Regions from separate parts of the Homo sapiens genome. Here all the other regions are linked to region 2. Evidence: promoter capture Hi-C in 16 types of primary human blood cells and fetal thymus (Javierre and others, 2016). All regions are on one chromosome and are shown on one strand. The core of a region is centred on a gene start or on the middle of the fragment in contact, and the rest is flanking DNA. Distances in the headings are between cores, read along the strand shown. Region 1 holds the start of KIZ (kizuna centrosomal protein). Region 2 holds the start of MKKS (MKKS centrosomal shuttling protein). Region 3 overlaps XRN2 (5'-3' exoribonuclease 2). Region 4 holds the start of LINC01431 (long intergenic non-protein coding RNA 1431).

Region 1 (2,700 bases), core at 7-2,506, about 11 Mb before region 2:
CACATGTTTGACACACACACACACAACCGTCTGCGTTCCAGGACTTGTCATCATTGATGCAGTGCAGCTGTCACGGCGGGATGGCAATTTGAAGAGAGTGGGGAGGGGGCGTGTAAAAGGGGACAAGAGAAACTCACAAGGCTTGATGGAGAGTGACAGGCAGAAGAACTCCCACCTTCACTTCTGGGCAAATTCTGTGACGCGGCCGCATCCTCAAACCGTAGACCAGGCTTTAGCTGCTATTGACGGGGCGGGGGCGGTCTCTCACCTCTCTCCGCTCCCACCCCCAATACAGGGGGTGGCTCTAGTAAACACTGTCCTCCAGGCCCCACTGGGAGCCTGGGGGGCGTTGCGCGCGGGCCTGGGCCCCGGGGAACCTCGGACGGGGGAGCGGGAAGGAAAATGGGGCAGGGCACGCGGAAGACCCCCGGCGCGGGCCGACTCCCCACCCCCGCCCCAGTGCCCTTACCTGTCCCGCAGCCCGTGCTGGAGTTGGCCCAGCCTCTCGTAGTAGTCGGGACTCGACAGGGGCACGGCCGATGCGAGGGTCCGGCTCATGCTGCTGCCGCTGCGCCAGCTCAGCACAGCCTCTGGGTGGCCGTTCGGCCGGGGTTGCCGAAGGAGACCGCCCCACCATGCACCGCGGGTAAACACCGCGCCGGGCCGCCTGCAGGAGGCGGGGCAAGACGCCGTGGGGGCGGGGCGCCGCTGAGGGACGGGGCGGAAGCCGGCTTTGTGGGGGGCGGGACGAAGACCTGCATGGGGCGGGGAAGAGGCGTGGCAGAGGCGGGGCGTCGTGAGGCCGGGGCGGACCACGTCGGAGGGGCGGGCGCTCGGTGCCCTCTCCTCTCTCCCTTGACGCGGTGTCTCCTTTCCCCTCACCTTCCAGGATTCGCACAAGCTACGTTAATGTTACAAGGCGCATTCCCTCCCTTTCTTTCGTCTCTCGCTTGCTTCTTTTCCTCGATCTCCTTTCTTGCCAGGATTTGTTGAGTGCCAGGCACTGTACTAAGCTTGTTCTATTATATCAGCACTCAAAAGCGACACAAAACACCAAGTAAAAAAAGACAAACCCTCAAATGCTAAACAGCCGTGCTCAGCCCCGACAGTGGACCAACCCCTTACTCGAAAATCCGTGCTGAATCTAAGGATTGTTCCAGGTGCCAGTATCGTTGGCGAGAGGGAAAAGTTGATAACTAGTTGCTTGGGAAGCAGACGTTTGTGCAGACAGCTCTAAGGGACAATGCTCCTAATGTCCTGTAGGATCCTCTAGCAGGAGCCCGGGAGCCAGACTGCCTGGGTGTACATTCCCTATCCACGTCCCAGCTGCCAAGCCGTGTGCAAGTCACCCCAGGTTTCCTCATATGTAAAGTGGGAGGCTGTTAACACAGGATTAGTTTAGGATTCGATTGTTAATATGTGTTAGTGTTTATAAGTGGGCCCAGCACATAGAAAGCATCAGGTTTTATTATCATCACCAACGTCGGGAAAAAGCTTCCTGAAGGAAGCCAACCATATTTCAAAACCCACTGGGCAGAAAAATTAAGCCTTAGCCTGCTTCTCTGCCTTCCTTTCCTTTTTTTTTTTTTTTTTTTTGAGACAGAGTCTCACTCTGTTGCCCAGGCTGGAGTGCAGTGGCGTGATCTCGGCTCACTGCAAGCTCTGCCTCCCGGGTTCAAAAGATTCTCGTGCCTCAGCCTCCTGAATAACTGGGATTACAGGTGTGCGCTACCACACCCAGATAATTTTTGTTTTTTTTGGTATTTTTTATATTTTAAGGAGAGACGGGGTTTCACCATGTTGGCCAGGCTGGTCTTGAACTCCCAACCTCAGGTGATCCACCCACCTTGGCCTCCCAAAGTGTTAGGATTACTTGCATGAGCCACCATGCCCGGCCTGTAGAGTTTCTTTAGTCTCTTATTGTTCACTTCTTTTGGTTTCTTTCCTATGCCATTAATTTTACTTACACATACAAGGTGCAAGGTGTGACAAACTAAAATTGTAAGAGAGATGGAACACTCAAAGGCCAACAACACAAAACTATGATTTTACTCAGCCTTCCATTCACATTTGCCAGTTCCAGGGCAAGAGTGTGAATGGAGGCCCTCATACCATCCGCCTAAATATTGAATTATAATTCAAGATAACAAACTTAGGTAAAATACGTGTTCTCCTCTCCACTTTGACCAATATGCCTTCTTAAGAACCTGGACAACCAGGGTGGAATTTAGTTTGCCTGCTTCTCCAGCTCCCCCCAACTCCATTTCCCACCCCAGGCTCAGTCTTGCTTTGTGAGGGGGTCTCATACACTAGCAGGGATGTGTGTGCCCTGCCTCTTCTCCTCCTCTTCTCCAGCCAGCAAGTCCCAACTCTGCCTACATCCCCACCTCAGCCTCCTCTTGGCCGGGCAGTGAGCATGCCAGTGATGGTCACCCTTGCAGGAAAGACCCAGCCAAGAGGCCTTTTAAAGCCTTAGAAAGCAGCTTGGGCCCCTTTGAGCAGGGAAGGTAAGGGTGTTGGGTACTTAGAACGTGTTCTAGAAGAGCATGTGTGTGTATGTGTGTGAGCACCCCAGGTGGGCCTGTCATCTGGCCCTGGGACCTCCTTGCCTTGCGTGGAGCAGCATGGGCAGAGAAGGGCTAGAACAGAACCTCTAATACACAGAAGCCAGGGCAGAGGCCTTCTTGCCCTGGTCCAAGG
Region 2 (2,700 bases), core at 81-2,580:
TCAAAAAATCAAAGCCAAAAACCAGGAGGGAGGAGATGGGCAAACAGTTCAGTTCACTTGAAGGAACATCTGAGGTTGTCAGAGGTCCATGTGCTTACCTATGATGGTGGCGGGGTTTGGGCTCGGGCTTTATATGTTTTGTTACTGTCCAGGGTCACTGGCGGAGTAGTACCTGGCTGTGGAAACTCGGACTACACAGGTAGCCGGAACTGCAGCCAACCTTCAGAAGCTTAAGGGAAGCACTTTCGCGCTTACTTCCTCCTTCCCAGGGTCTCCGCGCGCGTTTGGGAACTCAGCCGCCGCCCAAACACAAAATGATCTGGGCAGCTTCGCTGCAGGATTGAGGCCACAGCCAGGATTTAAGATGGCAGCGAAACACTTCGATGGCCCGTGGAATCTGCCCAAAAGAAAAATGGCCTCTGTTCAGAATATCGCGGCTTTCAAAGTGGGCCCAAAACAAAAATGGCGCCGGACGCAGGCTATTTTTAAAGGCTGGGACCCCAATGACTCTCATTAGCAAATAACGTATCATGGTAACTCACGGTGCTAGGCAGTTGAACTGACCGAGAGAAAAAAAAACGCTTTTCTGTGGTGTGTTTTCTTAACATTGGAAAATGACTAGCTCAAGAATGGAACATATATTCGGTGCGAAAGATTGTGAGAAAGGAAAGGTAGCTTTCACAGTGCCGGATAAATTTTAATAAAAATAGCCATGTTTGAACATAACTTCCTATATGTTTTTTAATGTTAAAAGAGAATAAAAGTTTTGTCCTGGAACCCAGAAGCAGGATGGGGAAATGCCGGGTGAATTATCTAATCTGTGAAGAGTACGAGCTGCGAAACTCCGCACTTCCCTGTAAGCCCTCAGGAAGGACTGAGGGCGGATGCTTTAGTAGAAGGCAACTAGCTCTCACGGCGCATGTCCGTTTTCCAAACCCGATCCCGGGAGTTACGGGAGAGTAAAAATCCTGATTTTCCAGACAACCGCACAGAGAGGCGGGATACTGGCGCTGAGCGACAAATCCAAGCGCTTTGTAATTGGTCATGTCAGGACAGAGAGCAGAGCGCAGTGGACTATTTCTTTCTTTCATTCAATAAATCATTGTCAAGCGCTCACCAAAAGGCAGAAGCTGTGCCATTTTGATATGTTATTTAAATTTTATGCGTTCTTTTAAAATTTCAGTTTCAACAATTTGCTGGAATATACGCTGAATAAACTTCGCTCCCCGTTTTTTCCGGTGACGGCCGCTGTTGGCTGGAGCTTCACGGAAAACCCGGAGAAGCGGAGTGGGGGCGGCCCGGCGTCGACCGCAGAGCTGCGCGTGCTCCGTGCCCTCGCGCGACGCGAAGGTTGTCGGGATCCGCGGCAGCAGCGGCTGCTTGAGATCTGTTTCTGGGGCCTCTGGCGGTGGCGGCCTGGGGCGGCGCGACGGCTGGTGCGCAGGTGAGAGCGCTGGGACTCTAGGTGGAAAAGCCCGCTTTGTGTCCGGCCGAAGAGAGGGGAAGGGGCTTGTAGGCGCCTCCCTCTCCACCCCCAAAGGTCACCGGTGTCCTCACTGAAGGATATTTGAGGGCGGGGACAAGGAGGAGGCTGGCTCTCTGTAGGAGGCGAAAGACCGACCTCTGAAATAGCTGCCGATGGTAAATGTTGCGGTCGGCACGGATGCGGGCGGCGAGGAGGTCTTCCCGCCGGTGGGGAGAGCTGGAGGAGTGGCGCCTCACCACGCTCCCACCTGCGCTGCCGCCTTCTACGCCGAACCTGTGACTCCCCGTCCCCTCCCTCGCTGGGAGGGGCCCCGTGTGCCCCTGACTGTCTGGAGGGTGCACGGTGTACCCCAGGCTGTCGGGAGGTGGGGGCCGCCCTCCGACGGCGTTAGAGACGTTGTGCAGCGTGGCCCTGCCAGCTACGTGAAAGCAGCCGCGGGGCTTGCAGGGCTGTGGACCTTGTAGGGATGACCCTCTAAGGTCATGCTCGTCTTCCTCCCCGATAAGACCATACCCAAATCCTGTTGCCGTTTCAGAGACTCAATATGACGGTTTCATTCATTCATTAACATCTTCAGTTTATCCATAAACAGATATACACGTGTCTACAGCACTGCCGAGTTAGTAGATACGGCAGTGACCAAGAGGGACTTGCACGGTCCTGACTCCATGTTCTAGTGATGGGGGAGAAACAATACGCTCCCTATCCATGAGTTCCGCATGTGTGAATTCAACCAACTGCGGATAGAAAATATTTTGGGGCGGCGGGGTTTGGTGGCTCACCCCTGTAACCCCGCACTTTAGGAGCCCGAGGCGGGCGGATCACTTGAGTCAGGAGTTTGGGGCCAGCCAGGCCAACGTGGCGAAACCCGGTCTCTGCTAAAAGTACAAAAAAATGAGCCGGGCGCAGTGGCGCACGCCTGTAATCCCAGCTACTTGGGAGGTTGAGGCAGGAGAATCGCTTGAGCCCTGGAGGCGGAGGTTGCGGTGAGCGGAGATCACGCCACTGCACTCCAGGTTGGGCGACAGAGACTCTATTTAAGAAAATAAATAAATAAAAACATTCTGGGGGAAAAAAGATGGTTACATCTGTACTGAACACGTGCAGACCTTTTTTCTTGTCATTCCCTAAACACTGCAGTGTAACAACTACTTACATAGCATTTAACGTTGTATTAGGTATTATAAGTAGCCTAGAGATTATTTAAGGTACAT
Region 3 (2,700 bases), core at 145-2,644, about 11 Mb before region 2:
TGCTGATGCCAATGTAAAATGGCACAACCAGTTTGAAAAAAAAAGTCTGGCAGGTTTTTCTTTTTAAGTAATCACACACCTAATATACAATCCAACCATTTCACTCCTAATGTTTTTCCCCCAAACAAATGCAAGCATACGTCCCTACAATGACTTGTACAGAGATGTTCATAGGTTTCTTTTTCAGAAAGCCAAAAACTGGAAACAATCCCAATGTTCATCAATCATCTGAATAAATAAATAAAATGTGGTGTATCTACACACAGAATACTATCCAAAAATTAAAAGACGAGGCAGGCAGATACTTGAGGTCAGGAGTTCAAGACCAGCCTGGCCAACATGGTGAAACTCCATCTCTACTAAAAATACAAAAATTAGCCGGGTGTGGTGGCATGTGCCTGTAATCCCAGCTGCTTGGGAGGCTGAGGCAGGAGAATTGCTTGAACCCAGAAGGTGGAGGTTGCAGTGAGCCGAGATCGCACCACTGCACTCCAGCCTGGGCGACAGAGCGAGACTCCATCTCAAAAAAAAATAAAAACAAAAAAGAAATAAACTACTGACACATACAACAACGGAAGAATTTCAAAATAAGTATACTGAATGAAAGTAACTGAGGCAAAAAATGAGTATATACTATATAATCTCATTTATAAAAAATTATAGAAAATGAAAACTTATCATACGGTCAGAAAGCAAACCAGTCAGTGGTTGGCAAAAGACAGGTGGCAGGGAGGGATAGTAGAAAGGAACTACAAAAGGGCAGAAGGAATGTTTTAGAGGTCACGTTCACTGTCTTGGTTGTGCTGGTTTCACAGATGTATGCACTGTATTAAATTATATACTTTAAGCCCAGGACTTTGAGGCTGCAGTGAGCCATGATTGCACACTACATTCCAGCCTGGTGACAGAGCAAGACCTCAACTCGAAAAAAGTTAAAAGAAAATTGTACACTTTAATTACCTGCAGTTTATTCTATGTCAAGTATACCTCAACAAAGCTGCAAAAACACCAAAGGTTGGGGGAGGTTTCAAGGAAAGCCAGAGAATGAGAGAGAAAATAAAAATAAAAATACATGAGTCTAAGAGGACCAGTATCCTGAGTCTGGAAAGGGAAGAAAAAAAGGTCAAGAAATCATCAAACAGCATTCCCTAAAACCGAAGAACGTAAGACTCCAGACTCAAAGAGTGAGCCACGTACTGATCAAAATGAATCTGAATTTAAAATAACATCTATACCTGGGTACCTAATAATGAAAGTTTACACTATCAAGAAAAAGATCTTTTTAAAATCTAGGAAGGAAAACTGATCACAAAAGAATGAAAGCATATGAGCATAAAAATTAAGTCCTTCTGGTTTCCACACTAGCTCTGACATTTATCAGCTGAGTGACCTTGGGTATGATACGCGACCCTGCTGTGTTTCCATTTTCTCATCTGAAATAATAATAAACATAACAATAATCATTATTTTTCTGAGATGGAGTCTCGCTCTGTCACCAGGCTGGAGTGCAGTGGCGGGATCTCGGCTCACTGCAATGTCTGTCTCCCGGGTGCAAGTGATTCTCCTGCCTCAGCCTCCCAAGTAGCTGGGACTACAGGCGCGCCACCATGCGCAGCTAATTTTTGTATTTTTAGTAGAGATGGGGTTTCACCATGTTAGCCAGGATGGTCTGGATCTCTTGACCTCGTGATCCACCCACCTCAGCCTCCCAAAGTGCTGGGATTACAGTCGTGAGCCACCGCACCCGGCCAATAAACATAGTAATTATTATAACATAATAACAATATTGGTTGTCTCCAAATAACGTGCTTCTATTATTTGTATGTAATAAAAATAATTACAACAGTAGAAGTCATGTGGTTGTGAGGATCAAACAAGTTATAATAAAGTTCTTAAAACAATGGTAAATGCTATATAACTGCTGGTTAAATAAATACATCACATTAACACCGAACTTGTCATCAACACTACTAGATGAGAGAGTACAAAAGAACAATTTCTTTCAAAGTTCTGAGGGAACCTAATATTAAAACTGGAATTCCTGGCCAGGTGCGGTGGCTCATGCCTGTAATCCCAGCACTTTGGGAGGCAGGGGCTGGTGGATCACCTGAGGTCAGGAGTTCAAGATCAGCTTGGCCAACATGGTGAAACTCCGTCTCTACTAAAACTACAAAAATTAGCCGGGCGTGGTGGCGCGCCTGTAGTCCCAGCTACTCGGGAGGCTGAGGCAGGAGAACGGCTTGAACCCGGGAAGTGGAGGCTGCAGTGAGCCGATATCACACCACTGCACTCCTGCCTGGGTGACAGAGCTAGACTCCGTCTCAAAGAAGAAGAAAAAAAAAACACCTCGAATTCCATGCCTAGCTAATGATCATTCACGTGTATAAGGGTAGAATGGAGCTATTTTGGGTCCTACAATGACTCGGAAATCTCACATCCCACACAGCATTTCTTAAGAATTAAGAATAAGGAGGCCAAGGCAGGCGGATCAGAAGGTCAGGAGATCGAGACCATCCTGGCTAACACGGTGAAACCCCGTCTCTACTAAAAGTACAAAAAAATTAGCCAGGCGTGGTGGCGGGCGCCTGTAGTCCCAGCTACTTAGGAGGCTGAGGCAGGAGAATGGCGTGAACCCCGAAGGCGGAGCTTGCAGTGAGCCGAGATTGATTGAGCCACTGCACTCCAGCCTGGGAGACAGAG
Region 4 (2,700 bases), core at 6-2,505, about 13 Mb before region 2:
CAAATAATTACTGCTTTGATTGGACCAGAGACTGACTGCAGTAACTTTTTCCTGATGGGAAACAACCGAACAGGGGCTGATTCTGGCGGTTTACAGAGGCTGCACACAAGTGCATCGGTGTCCTGAAAAGATCTTTCAACTTATAGGGTCTAAATGTAATACATGAATACCTGTAAATGCTAAGAGTCCACCCCAAAGTAAACATAGGTCACCTGTAACATGCACGTTTGTCCAGTAAGCATGGGTCAGGACCCGTTTCATGAATATTCATAGCTCTTCCTGTGGCCTGTTCATATGTGTACTTGGCTAAGTCCTTCAGCTTAAATTCCTGTCTTAGGCCCCCTTCCCTCCAGCTGCCTGCCTTTTGAGCTTCTGCCAGAAGCTATGCTTCCCAGCCTGTCAGAAGGGCCACCTTGCAGGTTATCACCGTTTAAAGAAATAAAGCTCTCCTTTCTATGTTTGTGATCTTTTTTTTAAATAATACAAATAGACAATTCACTTGACAGTGTGAATGGCATACTTCACTGACAATGGAATACTATAAAAACAATAATAAACCACTGATAAACATCAACCTGACAAAGTTAAATATAGTGTTTCATGCTGTAGAACTCTGCACGAGAAAAGTACACGGGAGTGAACAATTGTTACGTAAGGGCGTTCACTGCAGTGCACTTACATTAGTGAAACTTTGGAAACAATCTCACCTATAAGGAGATGGCCGAAGAATTTGATATATCCAAGCACTGGATTATTATGCCGGTCATTAAAACAATGTTTAAAAATATGTGTAATAGCTTGGGGAAATGCTCACCATGTTATAATGAGTAAAGACGGTACACTATTTTACATAGGGTCTGATGTGATTTGAAAACAAATCTATAGAAATAGACTGGAAAGAAATGTATCAAATTCTAAACTGCACAAGGAAGAACACTGACGCACGCGCAACGCCGGCGCCCTGCCCACTAGGCGCCCTCGCTGCCCCTCACCTGCACAGCCGGCGCACGCCCACAGGCTCGTGAGGGAGCGGCCGGTGGGTCAGGCTGGGCGGCACTCCTCGCCCATTGGCTGTCCCGGAGTCCGGCCCCGCCTCTCCCCGCCTTCTGGAGCCGCTGGTATAGCTCCTTCCAGGGCTCCTTGGAGACGGAGGGCGGGGCTAGGGCGCCGGAGTCACGTGGTCGCGCCACCGCGCGATTACTAGCTGTCAAAAGAGTCCTCAGAAGTGTCCTGAGCGGTCGCAGGGTAATGACGTCGGCCGTATCGGGGATGCTGGAACCTGCGGTTGAGTGAGAAACCGGCGCCACCGCCTGCGTCTTGGTCTCGGGCTGGTGGCCAGCGGGGTCTGGGCGTGGTTTTACCCAGCTCCTTTGCGAAGCTGCTGTCCTTTCCTCAACGTTACCACCCGGCTGGGCAGCCTACCCTCGGTCAGTACGTCCTGGCAAGAGCGCTTCGGGCGTGGCGTTCGTGTCGCGGGGGCCTCGGCTCAGAAGCGAGGGAAGAGCAGCCCTCAGAGGAGCGGCGACCGCGCTTACCGGGAGCCCGGGTTGGGAGAGGGCTCCCCAGGAGGGGTGTGAGCTCCGAACGAGAAAGAACGCCACCGCCTCGTGGGGTCTCTTCCTAATGTGCAGATTCCAAATCTCTACAATGCTGCAAAAGAGGTTACAGTCCACATCAAATTAAGCATGCCCTAAAGGGCAGCTGGGGTTCAGTTCAAGAGTTGAGTTTTAACACACACCTTTACCTGCCTTAAAATTGGGCAAGGTATCACAACGTTAAACCATTTCTCACAAGGCTCGTTGGTGATGTTTAAGATTTTTTGTTTGTTTGTTTGTTTTTTGTTACGGAGTCTCGCTCTGTCGCCCAGACTGGAATGCAGTGGCGCGATCTTGGCTGACTACAACCTCCGCCTCCTGGGTTCAAGCGATTGTCCTGCCTCAGCTTCCTGAGTAGCTGGGATTACAGGCGCCTGCCACCACGCCCAGCTAATTTTTCTATTTTTAGTAGAAACGGGGTTTCGCCTTGTTGGCCAGGCTGGTCTTAAGTTTTGCATCCTGGCTCCCTCCTCTTACCTAGTCCCAGCCTCTTGTCTACAGGACAAAGCAACTTTCTGCAGTTTTCTGTTTGCTCTTTAGAGAGACGGGGCCCTAATTTGGCAAAGTGGTAGGGGAGACAGGGCTGGTGTTTAAGGTCGACCAAAGCAACATCTAAATCTCTGCTCTTCCCCCAAATTGTCCAAATTAGCAGCAACAGGTGTGCACCTTCCAAGCTTGCAACAGACCACATTCAGAAGCTTGATTTCTTGTTGTTCTGGGAATATCTGGATCAGAGGTAACATGGTTCACTAGGACTCCTCAGCTTCACCCAGTGTCCATTTCACCTCCCCCGGCCTTCCAATGTCTCTTCTTGCAGATTTCTCCAAGCCACTCTCCCCGTCATCTCCTCCACCCCCAGGACCCAACTCCTGCCCCTCCCACCCTAGCCCCTGTTCTCCCTGCCCACCTCCTACCCCACTGGAGTGGCCTTTCATCAAACCTAAACCAAAGAAACCAACAGACCTTGCTGTCACCACTACTCCGGGACCTGGAAGTTAAAGCGAGGGAGAGACGGTGAAACACAGAAAGCAGAACGCCTTCTGTTCTTCCACAACACAGGGTTTGTGGACGTGGCCACTATAAGAACTCGCACTGCGTGCTGATT

What was found. The method cuts DNA at HindIII sites, captures the fragments that hold promoters and counts their contacts. A CHiCAGO score of 5 or more calls a contact.
Region 1: a contact is called between a fragment that was not itself captured here and the fragment with the promoter of MKKS in region 2, in 1 of 17 cell types (total B cells). The highest score is 9.5, in total B cells.
Region 3: a contact is called between a fragment that was not itself captured here and the fragment with the promoter of MKKS in region 2, in 1 of 17 cell types (total CD4 T cells). The highest score is 6.8, in total CD4 T cells.
Region 4: the fragment with the promoter of LINC01431 here is called in contact with the fragment with the promoter of MKKS in region 2 in 4 of 17 cell types (total B cells, naive CD8 T cells, non-activated CD4 T cells and 1 more); the score reaches 8.1 in total B cells.

Annotation. Positions count from the first base shown.
Region 1 is chr20:21,123,974-21,126,673 of GRCh38, reverse strand. KIZ (kizuna centrosomal protein) reads right to left here and starts at 592. Exons shown (of 13, transcript NM_018474.6): 1 at 470-592. The coding sequence starts at 558. RefSeq lists enhancers at 74-123, 1,024-1,123 and a silencer at 284-863. The HindIII fragment of the contact is 481 bases long and covers 1,016-1,496 here.
Region 2 is chr20:10,432,852-10,435,551 of GRCh38, reverse strand. MKKS (MKKS centrosomal shuttling protein) reads left to right here and starts at 1,330. Exons shown (of 6, transcript NM_170784.3): 1 at 1,330-1,444. SLX4IP (SLX4 interacting protein) reads right to left here and starts at 247. Exons shown (of 8, transcript NM_001009608.3): 1 at 99-247. LOC128706665 reads left to right here and starts at 1,330. Exons shown (of 3, transcript NM_001394148.2): 1 at 1,330-1,444. LOC128706666 reads left to right here and starts at 1,330. Exons shown (of 3, transcript NM_001394149.2): 1 at 1,330-1,444. RefSeq lists enhancers at 94-143, 304-533, 1,424-1,483. The HindIII fragment of the contact is 4,604 bases long and covers 232-2,700 here.
Region 3 is chr20:21,305,778-21,308,477 of GRCh38, reverse strand. All of the region lies in intron 1 of XRN2 (5'-3' exoribonuclease 2), which reads right to left. Among named protein-coding and RNA genes, the nearest start is that of XRN2, 3.8 kb to the right of the region's middle. The HindIII fragment of the contact is 4,700 bases long and covers 1-2,700 here.
Region 4 is chr20:23,356,682-23,359,381 of GRCh38, reverse strand. LINC01431 (long intergenic non-protein coding RNA 1431) reads left to right here and starts at 1,255. Exons shown (of 3, transcript NR_109884.1): 1 at 1,255-1,427; 2 at 2,245-2,331; 3 at 2,413-2,700. RefSeq lists a silencer at 920-1,109 and enhancers at 1,160-1,549, 1,740-1,829. The HindIII fragment of the contact is 4,137 bases long and covers 1-2,271 here.